3 separate regions of the Homo sapiens genome follow, and all the other regions are linked to region 1. The links are contacts of gene promoters, found by promoter capture Hi-C in blood cells and fetal thymus (Javierre and others, 2016). All regions are on one chromosome and are shown on one strand. Each heading gives the region's core, a stretch centred on a gene start or on the middle of the fragment in contact. The rest is flanking DNA. Distances are from core to core; before and after follow the strand shown.

Region 1 (3,730 bases), core at 1-2,500:
GTGGGGGCCGTGCCTTTGCCCAGACCCTGCACTTTCAACCAGGCCAGTCCGGCTCTGGGGAGCAGGGGCCTCCCCGGCAACAGCCCCAGGGGCCTTGAGGGTCTGAGGTCCCAGCCCTGTTGCCAAGTGACCTTGTCCCCAGCTCCCTCCTCCCAGGCTGGTGTGAGTGTGCGTGCGTTTGTGCCGAGCTTCTATTTCATATTGCAAATATAAATAAAGGAAGGCAGTTTACGATTCTGCTGGTCAGACCTTACGTTCTGGGATGCGGGGTGGGGAGCCTGTATTATCCCTGCACCCCAGAGGCTGGGGGTGCTCCTGACCCAGTCTGCCCCCACACTGTCCTGCCAGAGGGAGCCCTGTGGCTGCAGAGGCCCCAGGCTGGGCCAGGCACTGGCTGTGAGGGCTCCTGCCAGGTCTACCCCACCTGTGGGCAGGGCCTTGGGCAGAGGATAGAAGCCACCGACAGGCTCAAATCCCTGCTCCTGCCCCTGCTTACCCCCAGTAACCAAGCCCAGCATTGAGGCTGGGTACTGGCGCCCAGTAGGTCTGAGTCTTTCAGGTAGAAGGTAGAAGTGTAGGCTGCGTGTGCAGCGAGTGGCACCGGTGAGCGGCGCTGGGAAACCGGAGCGTGTGGACCGGGCCATGAGGACAGCGTCCTCACTGGGGTGGCAGTTGGCTTGGAGGTCACCTGGGGGCTCGCTCAGCTAACAGGAGAGGGTGCTTGTTCCCCGCATTCGTGGTGGTCCCTCCTGGTCACCCATTGAAGCAGTGTTTGTGGTGGAGCCCCTGAGGGCTTGGTGGGGTTGAGCAGAATGAGGAAAGGTTTCATGGAGCAGGGAGGGAGACGGCTAGGGCAGCAAGTGAAGGACAGACTCGCCTTCCCATCCCTCCAGGGGCACTCCTGCCAGCCAGCCCCTCTCCCGCTTCCCATGATGGGGTGGCTGTTGGAATTCTGCACCCCATCTCTTCTGATTGTTGGGGCCCAGGACAAGGGGACAGGCATTTGTGGGCCTAACCTCCCCAGGCAGATAGGAGGAGGAAGCCATGTCCCAGCAGGCTAGGGCAGAGGGACCCCCAGTGCCAACAGTGCTTTATCAGCGGGCGCCAGGCAGGGCCATCCCCAGGGTGAGGACAACATCTCCCTGGGCCCTGTTATCAGTCACAGAGTCCACAGGACGCTCCTTGGGTTAACGTGTAACCATGAGCCCTCCCCTCCACCCCCTGAAGCCACTCGCTCCCAGATTAGGTCGCTCTGGGGCTATCAGGCCAGCATGGACGCTGGCAAAGCGGGGCAGACCCTGAAGACTCACTGCTCAGCCCAGGTGAGAGCCTTCTGAGCTGTGCCTGGGGCTGGGGGGACAGGGCCCTGGAACCCCAGCAGCCGGCGGGTCTGGGAGCTGCTGTCCTTGAGTTGGTTGGGCCCTGGGAAGCTGGGTTCTGGCAGCCTGGTCCCTGAATGGGTCCAGCCTGTACAGCTGGGGTCCCAGGTGGGGGTGGGACAGGAGCCATGAGATCTGAGTCCCAAGAATGGGGGCTGGGCTGGGTTTCGGCTCAGTAGCTCCCCACTCCCCAAAGCGCCCAGATGTCTGCAGGTGGCTGAGCCCCTTCATCCTCTCCTGCTGCGTGTACTTCTGCCTCTGGATTCCCGAGGACCAGCTGTCCTGGTTCGCTGCCCTGGTCAAGTGCCTGCCCGTCCTCTGCCTGGCTGGGTTCCTGTGGGTCATGTCCCCAAGCGGGGGCTACACCCAGCTCCTCCAGGGAGCCCTTGTGTGCTCGGCTGTGGGGGACGCTTGCCTCATCTGGCCGGCAGCCTTCGTCCCTGGTGAGTGGAAGGTGCTGTGACGCTTTCCAGATGCCCGTGTGAGAGAGGCCCCAGCACTTGGATGGGAGCCTGGGTGCAGAGGGCTCCTGTGAGAGCTCCAGTGGTCAAAGGCACAGTGGGGGGCGCAGCCGTGACCGAGGCAGCTCACGCTCCAGCGAGGGGTGGGGGCAGGCGGTGTTAGGGCAGTAGCTGAGGTGGCGCAGAGGGCAGTGAGGACCTGCTGGAGGTACTGCAGTTTGAAGCAGGGTTGCTGAGGAAGGCCTCACTGAGGAAGTCACATTTGGGCAGAGCTGAAGGGCTGTATGCCTGTGTGGAGGAAGGGCGAGTGTAAAGGCTCCGGGGCAGGGACGTGTCAGGTGCTTGTAGCCCAGCAGGCCAGGGTGGCTGGCGCAGAGTGGCTGGAGAGCTGGAGGCCATGGGGCTTTGGAGGCCAAGGGAAGGTGGGGCCTCCTGGCAGTTCTGAGCAGAGCAAGGATGGACACTGCATGTGGGGAGACCTGCAAGGAGGCTCGGCCAGGGTGGGGCCTGGTGCTCTGGGATGGTCCTTCTCTTAGGCCCTGAGGGGTGACCTCGGGGCCATTCCCAGGATGGGCCTTCCTCACTGGTACCCCACCCCTCTCCCGCCAGGCATGGCCGCCTTTGCCACCGCCCACCTCCTCTACGTCTGGGCCTTCGGCTTCTCTCCCCTGCAGCCCGGCCTGCTGCTGCTCATCATCCTGGCCCCTGGCCCCTACCTCAGCCTTGTGCTCCAGCACCTCGAGCCGGATATGGTCCTGCCGGTGGCAGCCTATGGGCTGATCCTGATGGCCATGCTGTGGCGCGGCCTGGCCCAGGGCGGGAGTGCCGGCTGGGGCGCGCTGCTCTTCACGCTCTCTGATGGCGTGCTGGCCTGGGACACCTTCGCCCAGCCCCTGCCCCATGCCCACCTGGTGATCATGACCACCTACTATGCTGCCCAGCTCCTCATCACACTGTCAGCCCTCAGGAGCCCGGTGCCCAAGACTGACTGACTAGGGAGCTTGAAGGGCCGGTGTTCAGGCCCTCTCCTCCTGCAAGGACCTGGGCCTCCCAGCCCAGCCCAGCCTGAGAAATACCCTCAGCAGCGAAGCTTCCTGACGCCTGTCTGCAGGCGCCGCTGCCGCCGTCGCTTCTGGCTGAAGACGTTTGAGGACGATTTGCGGAATTCCAAGTCCACTACTGGGTTCCAGCTGCCTTCCCCCGGTTCTGACTCCAGATCCCTGGCTCCTCAGCCAGGCCCACATGGAGCCCTCCCAGCCACCAGCCTGCCTCCATGTTCACTGTCGGCCCCACAGCCTGCCCGCCCCCTGCTGCTGCTCTGAATCCGTTTTCCCTGTGGGTGTGGAACCGTAGATGTTGCTGTTACCGTAGGAGAGGCCTCGGGGAGGGTCATGATTGTGATAAACCATCGCGGTTAATGACAGCAGAAGGTTCTTTGTCGCTCCCCATGGACCAGGCCTGGTGCCCAGTGGGACCCTCCATGGCCCTCTGGTGGGGGGATTCGGGGGGATAAAGTGAGGATTGTGCAGAACTGAGCCAAGAGGACTGTTTGGTCTTTGTGTTAGTTTCCTGAGGCTGCTGTCACAAATTACCCCAAGCCAGATGCTTTGAAACAAGATGAATGGACTCTCCTGCAGTTCTGGAGACCCAAAGTCCAAAATCCGGGTGTTTTCCGGCCCATGGTCCCTCTTGAGGCTCCAGGGAAGAATCCGTCCTTGCCCTCTCGGCTTCTGGAGGCTCCCGGGAATCCCTGGCTTCCATCGGCCTGTGGCTGTGTCTCTCCGTCTTCATGTGACTGTCTTCAACTGGCAGCCTCCCTCTGTGTCCGCATCCTTCTAGGGACACAGGTCATTGGATTTAGGGCCCACCCTAAACCCAGGGTGATTCTAT
Region 2 (3,686 bases), core at 631-3,130, 390 kb before region 1:
CGCTAGTGATGGAGAGCAGAGGGAGAGGGCCAGGCTCCAGACTCCCACACGCCCACACAGCACCTCTGCCAGGCCTAGGAGAGGACAGGTGCAGCTCTTGCAGCTCTGCGGGTGTGCGGCCAAAGGCAAGGCCCACGGGCTGGATGTCACTTCCCCGACTGTCTCTTGGTTGGCTTGTCCTTGTGCAAGACCCAGCCTGTCACGACAGAGCCTGGGCACTTCAGAGGAGGAGCCAGGATCGAATGGAAGGGGGGAATTGGGGTCCACCATAGTCTTCTGCTCTGGTCCTCCACGGGTGGACCAGGATGGAGTCTCCTGCCTACCTCACTGCATTGCACTGGACCTGGGATGCCTATCCACCCTCTGGCAGAAGACACTCACCAGGTTATCTGTGAAGAGACTCTGGGATCCCATCACCTCAAAGCCAGAGGGTCCCCAAGTCACCGCTGAGAGCACTTGAGCCTCAAGGATGTAAGCCTGACCATAGGATCTTGACTCCAACAGCGGCAACCCCCACCCCCATTGTGGTCCGTCCTTAACCCATCCACTCTTCTTCGGAGGCAACTGAGAACACATAAAGCAAGCAGCTACCTAGCATCCCCCTCCTAAAGCTTTAGACTCAGAGCCCAGGGTCCCCCACAAGCCTCAAGGTAGCCTCAGGTTTCTCTAATTTCCTCCACTCCCAGTTCGAAGCAAACAGCTTACTGCCTAGTCCCCGCCAATCCCAAGGGCGGGCTGGCTGATGGCAGCATGGTGGGCTGGCCTGGGTGTGGAGTGAAAGAGTCACTGTGGTGGGGGCGAGAGGAGGACTTGGGAGCTGGAGGTGTGACACCTTCAGTTCTGTTCCTATTAAAGGACCTTCTGAAGGGCTTCTCTGTCGGTCTTGTATTCGGATTGTCCGCTTTGGGGAGTTGGGGGAGGAGGGGCCTCACCATGGTTTTGCCACCAGCAGTCAGTTGCATCATCTCTTCCTCCAAGCTTCTGTTTCCCCATCATCAGAATGGGGGGTGAGTAGGCCCCACTGTGGTTACGTGTTATGTGGTTCAGCTGTAGGAGAGGGGGGTCAGGGAAGTTTGGCAAAAGCACACTCAACATGCTTTGCATGCTTGTTGAGTGAGAGCCTCTGATTTGCACACCTTTCTGTTCACCCAGTGGGCCCCATGAGATAACTCACAGGCAACTCACAATGTGAACAGAACTCATTCCATTTTCCTCAAAGAAACCTCCATGCTTCTGATGTCATTGGCACCACCACCCAAGCTGGATACCTGGGCAGGTTTAAACCTTCTTCATCCTCATTCTTATGTCCAGTCCCTTATCAGTTTCCCTCAGTTGAGCCAGTTAATATCTTTGGAACTGGAACGTGTTTTCGGCATCACTACACTTGTAGACCAACAGTGGTCTCACACACAGACAACTGCACAGCAGTCCAGTGCCTGCATTTTTTTTTTTTTTTTTTTTTTTTTTTTTTTTTTTTTTTTTTTTTGAGATGGAGTTTTGCTCTTGTTGCCCAGGCTGGAGTCCAATGGCACAATCTCTGCTCACTGCAACCTCTGCCTCCTGGATTCAAGCACTTCTGCCTCAGCCTCCTGAGTAGCTAGGATTACAGGTGGGCGCCATCACGCTCAGTTCATTTTTGTATTTTTAGTAGAGATGGGGTTTCATCATGTTGGCCAGGCTGGTCTCAAATTCCTTACCTCAGGTGATCTACTCGCCTCGGCCTCCCAAAGTGTTGGGATTACAGGCGTGAGCCACTGCACCCGGCCACCTGCCCTCTTCATTCTCCATATGGCATCCATGCAGATCCTTGTCACCAAGACACAGCTCCTTGTGGCTTTGAGACGATTTGGAAATGTGAATGCCTACAGGAGCTGGGTGAAAATGTAAATACACGAGCAAGACGGCCAGGTTCAAGGGGAAAATATCAGCAACATGAAATAATGGCGATTGCCACCAGGTCTCAGAATTGGTATTCAACAAATTGGAGAGTGCCTCTTCAGAAGAGGGTAATGGCTGCTCAGCTCCGGAACACAGATTGGGTTGCCACATCTTCCAGTTTCTTTCAGAAGTTCCATTAGTTCACATTATGTAAAATCTTTTGATTTCCCAATGTTGGCAGTCAAGTCAAACTTTTTAAAAAATGCACAGACTAAACAAAAATGTGTTAGTGGTCATATTCGGCCTTGCAGCTGCCAGTTTCCAGCCTCTAGCCTATAAAATCACCCAAGCCCCACAGTTTGGAATTCAAGACCCTTCAGGGTTTAGCCCCCAGGAACCCAACCTCCAGCCATACTAATCTGTCTTAAATGCTCCAGAATAGCAGGGTTTAGTTCAACACACTAAACTCTCCGCCTGGAAATCTTTGCCACTTCTTTTTTTTTTTTTTTTTCTTATTTATTTATTTTTTTGAGACAGAGCCTTGCTCTGTCGCCCAGGATGGAGTGCAGTGGCATGATCTCGGCTCACTGCAAGCTCCGCCTTCTGGGTTCATGCCATTCTCCTGCCTCAGCCTCCCGTGTAGCTGGGACTACAGGCGCCTGCCACCTGCTCCCACCACCACACCCGGCTGATTTTTTGTATTTTTAGTAGAGACAGGGTTTCACCGTGTTAGCCAGGATGGTCTGGAGCTCCTGACCTCGTGATCCACCTGCCTCGGCCTCCCAAAGTGCTAGGATTACAGGCATGAGCCACCGTGCCCGGCCTCTTTGCCACTTCTTTACCTGGAAAACTCCAGTTGGTTTATGTCATCGTTCAGGGATCACCTTCTCCCCAAGAAGCTTTTCTAGCCCCCCTTCCACTCTGACAGGTGACTCCTCTGTGCTCCCTCAAGCCCTAGTGATACTTCCAAGTCCCTTACACTGTGAGGCTCCATTTCCATGTTACTGCTGAACCCTGAACCCTGGGGGCACTGGCACAACGTCTGTCTCATGCTGGGTCTTCAGCATTAGAACATGGAGCCACACAGGGTAGCTGCTCTCCCATGGGTCACACAGGACTCACCCAAGCAGCGCTCTTACCTAGTTTCATCTTCAAGTTTCTTTTTTTCCTTTTTTTTTTTTTTTTTTTTTTTTGAGATGGAATCTCGCTCTTGTCGCCTAGGCCGGAGTGCAGTGGCGCAATCTCAGCTCACTGCAACCTCCACCTCCTGGGTTCAAGTGATTCTCCTGCCTCAGCCTCCCGAGTAGCTGGGATTACAGGCACCTGCCATCACGCCCAGCTAATTTTTGTACTTTTAGTAGAAAGGATGGTTCACCATGTTGGCCAGACTGGTCTCGAACTCCTGACCTCAGGTGATCTGCTCGCCTTGGGCTCCCAAAGTACTGGGATTACAGGCATGAGCCACTGCACCTGGCCTCATCTTCAAGTTTCTGTACTGAAGTACTCTGGGACTGAAGTCCAAATTATTTATTTGTTGAGATGGAGTCTCACTCTGTCACCCAGGCTGGATGCAGTGGTGCGATCTCAGCTCACTGCAATCTCTGCCTCCTGAGTTCAAGTGATTCTCCTGCCTCAGCCTCCTGAGTAGCTGGGATTACAGATGCCCACCACCATGTCCAGCTAAGTTTTGTATTCTTAGTAGAGATGGGGTTTCACCACTTTGGCCAGGCTGGTCTCAAACGCCTGACCTCAAGTGATCTGCCCGCCTCGGCCTCCCAAAGTGCTGGGATTACAGGCGTGAACCACCA
Region 3 (3,564 bases), core at 867-3,366, 420 kb before region 1:
AAGACGCTAGCTGTGAACTGGCTGGGGCTGGGTGCTGCTGTGGGAGCTATCTGGGCTGCTTCTGGCCATGAATTATAGCAGAGCAAGGTATGTGGGTGGGGACTGCCCAGGAATCAGGCAGGGTTTGAGGGACAGCACCTGCTGGGGTCACCACCCAAAAAGGCCCACAAAGGAAGGGACTTAATGTCTTTGATGGGGAAGGAGTGCTCATTAACCAAGGATGGGACAGGGTGGGTGGGAAGATGGCCCCTGGTGTCACAGAGGGGAGGGGGGGACAGGAGGAGGCCGGATGGCTGGACTCTTGGATCTTGGAGAAGACAGGGACGGGAGGAGGAGCAGGGGCCCCCTGAGGAAACCCAAAGAACTAGGGTGGGCCTCTTGGCCAAAGAGATGAAGGAAGGTCCCCCTAGGAGTCAGAAGAGAGGGGCTCTCAGGTGCCAGGGTCCCTGAAGTCACCATGGGCCAAGGAAGCAGATGGCAGGGCACTGGAGGCTGATGGGATTTGGGGAGCTGACGGAGAAGGCAGGAGGACGGGCCCCAGTAGACAGTTCATGGGGATGAGGCCCTGGAATCAAGTGAGGAGGCAGCTGGGCCTGGGGGCCCAAAACAGGCAGGGGACTAGCAGATAGGGCCAACATGGCAGGTCCCACCCAGCCAGCCAAACAGTGGAGCCTTGAGTCTGGGTGAGCGGGTACCCAGTAGCGGGACAGGGAGGCATGTGGATCAGAGCACCCCACACACACCTGCCTCCATCCGAGCAGAAGAGATGAATTTGTCCAGCTGGCACCGCAGGAAGTCCCTCTCTTCCTCCAGGTCCTCGATGCGCTTCTGCAGCCAGGAGTTCCTCTCCAGAGCCATGTGCAGCTGGGTCTTGACGCTGTTCATCAGAGCCAGGGCGGAGGACGCAGCCTCCGGAGGCTCTAGGGACACAGCGAGGGTGGGGGGACCAGGTCACACCCTGGGACTCAGGGCTTGGCTTCCCAGCTGACTCCAGTCCCTCCACACCCCCTCAGCTCACCCTCGAAGTTTCTCCGAGAGGGGCTCAGACTGTAAAAGATCTGTGGGTCTAGGTGGGGTGCCTCATCGAAGGGAATGGAGATCTCGAAGGTCTCATCGTCCTTCACTGGAGAGGAGAGGCCCCGGGTTACCCCAGAGAATTCCCCGGGCCTCTCAGGCCACCCCCCAACCACGGCAGCCTGGAGCCGACCGCACTGGGACCCAGGGTAGGGAAGGGGACCCAGCTTCCTCACTTGTCCGCCTCCGACTGCTCCGGTCATTCATGGCGCGGCTTCCTACGGACCCCAGCAGCCGAGGGCCTCAGGGGCACTGGACAGAAACGGCAGCCACAAATGGAGAGACGCAGATGGACTGGAGGGTCCATCCTGGGGGAGGTGAAGTGAGACAGGAGGGACCTTCTGGCCTGGACCCCTGGTCTGAGGGAGGAGGGAGCCTGGACCCCAGGACTGAGGCAAAACGCGCCTGGGCTTCAAACTCCTGGGCTCCTGGAGTCAGGGGCAGGGGGCCCAGCCGCCTAGGTCCTGGGGGAGAAGTGAGCTGGGGACGTGGGCTCCTGGGTATCGAAGGAAAAGGAAGCTGAAGCCCTAAATTGCTGGGTGCCCCAAGGGGTCGCCTGACCAGGGACACCTAGCCTGAAGGGGAAGGACCCTCTCTCATCGCGGGCCACTGCCAGGCCTAAGGAAGAGGCAGGTGCAGGGGGAAACTGCCCCAACTTCCCAGGGTAGGAGGAGGTCCAGCCCGTGCGCGCTGCCTCCTCTACCTTCGGGGCCCCCACACCCCTCCCCCGCACTCGCGTGGGCGGGCGGACCGTCCCCCGGTGGTGGGGGCTGGGCGCGTGCGCAGTACGGGGAAAGGTCACGCGTGGGGGTGCGCCCCCCCCGCCCCCGCCCTTTGTCCCGCGGGTGGGAGGGGGAGCGGTCGTGGAACGATTCCAGCGGGAACATGCACTAGGGCGGGGGTGCAAACGCGGCCACCATCCCCCGCCCGCGGGTGCCCGGGGTCCGAGGGGCCGAGGCCCCCCGCGCTCACCCACCCGCTCGCGGAATCCGGCTCGGGGACCGACGGCGGCGGCGCCCATGCCCGGCGCCGGGGAGCGTCTGCAAAGTGTCACGGGGAGCCGAGGGAAGCGCCCACCCACCCGCGAACAGGCGGGGCGGCAGGGGAGCGTGTCGTGGAACTGAGCGACGGAACGGGCAGGGACGCGGGGACTCGCCCAGTCGGGCCAGGCTAGCGCCCCTCGTTGAAGAGTCCCCGGGTCCAGGTGAGGCCCGCCGTTTGCGGCAGAAGCAGAGGGTCTGCACTTGCGCGATAGCCCCTTACAGCACTCCCCCGCCCTCCCCGAAGCTCAGGCAGGGAACATCACGAAATTCCCATCCTGGAGAGCTGGCGAGTCTCCGGGGGTCCCCGGATTGGGTGGCGGTGTGCCCAATGGGCCCAGAAGGCAGGAGAGTGTTTGAGACACCGAGAAAGTTGGAGCGAAAGGAGAATCTACTTTTAACGCTCTCTCAGGAACTAGCCAGCGCGGACCCCTCAGAGCTCCCCTACCTCCTACAGCCAGACCCCAAGGTTCTCAGGGATGTGGGGGCCAAAATCGGGGGAGTTACCCCTCTCCCGGAAAATGAGGGCCAGGAACACGCCACCCCCATCCCCATGTTGGTAATTAAGAGCTGGCTTTGGAGCAAAGCTAGATTCCAGTCCTGACTGTTCCTGCTCCTCCCCAGCCTGTTAACTCACCTGCAAAATGGGGAAATTACAAGCCCTTCTAAATTTATTGTGAGGATGCAGTGATGCGACACACAGAAGCTCAGCCCAGCACCTGGCCATCGTCAGGGCTGAAGAGAGGAGCGCTGCTGGTATTATTTGAGGTCAGATGGTGGGGTATGATGGCAGCCTCTGGGAGGCTCTTTCCCACTCTGGGGAGTATGAACGGAAGATTTGTTCTTCCTCCCAAAAAAACAGGTCGGAAGAGCAAATGAGGCCTAGCACAGTGCCTGGCACAAAATAGGCAAGAAAAATGAATGAATAAGCAGATGTTTATTAAGCTTCAGGCTCAGCTCCACCTGCCTCTCCTGTTCACCAGAAGCATCCAAGCTCTGGACTGTGGCCAGCCCTTATAAGAGCAAGGTCTTAACCCGATGGAGGGAGAATCTAAATGTCTGCACCGCCTGCAAAGCTGTGACCATGATCCTCCCCTCCCCACTTTACAGATTAACTGCAGCCTGGTCCAAAAATTCCAGGGGGAGCCATCTGCCCTAGATTGGTCTTTTCCAAACTACAGGTTCATGGGTGGAGAATTCAATAGAATAGGATGAAATCAGCAGTTTAAAAAAATATTTAGCCGGGCGTGGTGGTGCACACCTGTAATCCCAGCTACTCAGGAGGCTGAGGCAGGAGAATCGCTTAAACCGGGGAGGTGGAGGTTGCAGTGAGCCGAGATCGCACCACGCTCCAGCCTGGGCGACACAGCGAGACTCCGTCTCAAATAGTAATAATAATAGTTGATGGAAAAAAAAATGCACAAACTAAAGCTAACTATGGTAAAGAAAT

The links. Contacts are between HindIII fragments. The CHiCAGO score rates a contact against its expected background, and 5 or more counts as called.
Region 2: a fragment that was not itself captured here is called in contact with the fragment with the promoter of TMEM86B in region 1 in 2 of 17 cell types (erythroblasts and megakaryocytes); the score reaches 6.2 in erythroblasts.
Region 3: the fragment with the promoter of CCDC106 here is called in contact with the fragment with the promoter of TMEM86B in region 1 in 6 of 17 cell types (naive CD4 T cells, total CD4 T cells, non-activated CD4 T cells and 3 more); the score reaches 7.6 in naive CD4 T cells.

The regions. Positions count from the first base shown.
Region 1 is chr19:55,226,283-55,230,012 of GRCh38, reverse strand. TMEM86B (transmembrane protein 86B) reads left to right here and starts at 1,250. Exons shown (of 3, transcript NM_173804.5): 1 at 1,250-1,322; 2 at 1,576-1,822; 3 at 2,450-3,375. The coding sequence starts at 1,272. The coding sequence ends at 2,832. It overlaps PPP6R1 (protein phosphatase 6 regulatory subunit 1), which reads left to right. Exons shown (of 24, transcript NM_014931.4): 24 at 1-234. The HindIII fragment of the contact is 5,765 bases long and covers 1-2,932 here.
Region 2 is chr19:55,617,925-55,621,610 of GRCh38, reverse strand. It overlaps ZNF784 (zinc finger protein 784), which reads left to right. Exons shown (of 2, transcript NM_203374.2): 2 at 1-870. Among named protein-coding and RNA genes, the nearest start is that of ZNF784, 4.8 kb to the left of the region's middle. The HindIII fragment of the contact is 1,799 bases long and covers 981-2,779 here.
Region 3 is chr19:55,646,764-55,650,327 of GRCh38, reverse strand. It overlaps CCDC106 (coiled-coil domain containing 106), which reads right to left and starts at 2,116. Exons shown (of 5, transcript NM_001370470.1): 1 at 1,251-2,116; 2 at 1,019-1,123; 3 at 744-920. The coding sequence starts at 1,281. RefSeq lists an enhancer at 651-700 and silencers at 1,761-1,890, 1,921-2,040. The HindIII fragment of the contact is 17,145 bases long and covers 1-3,061 here.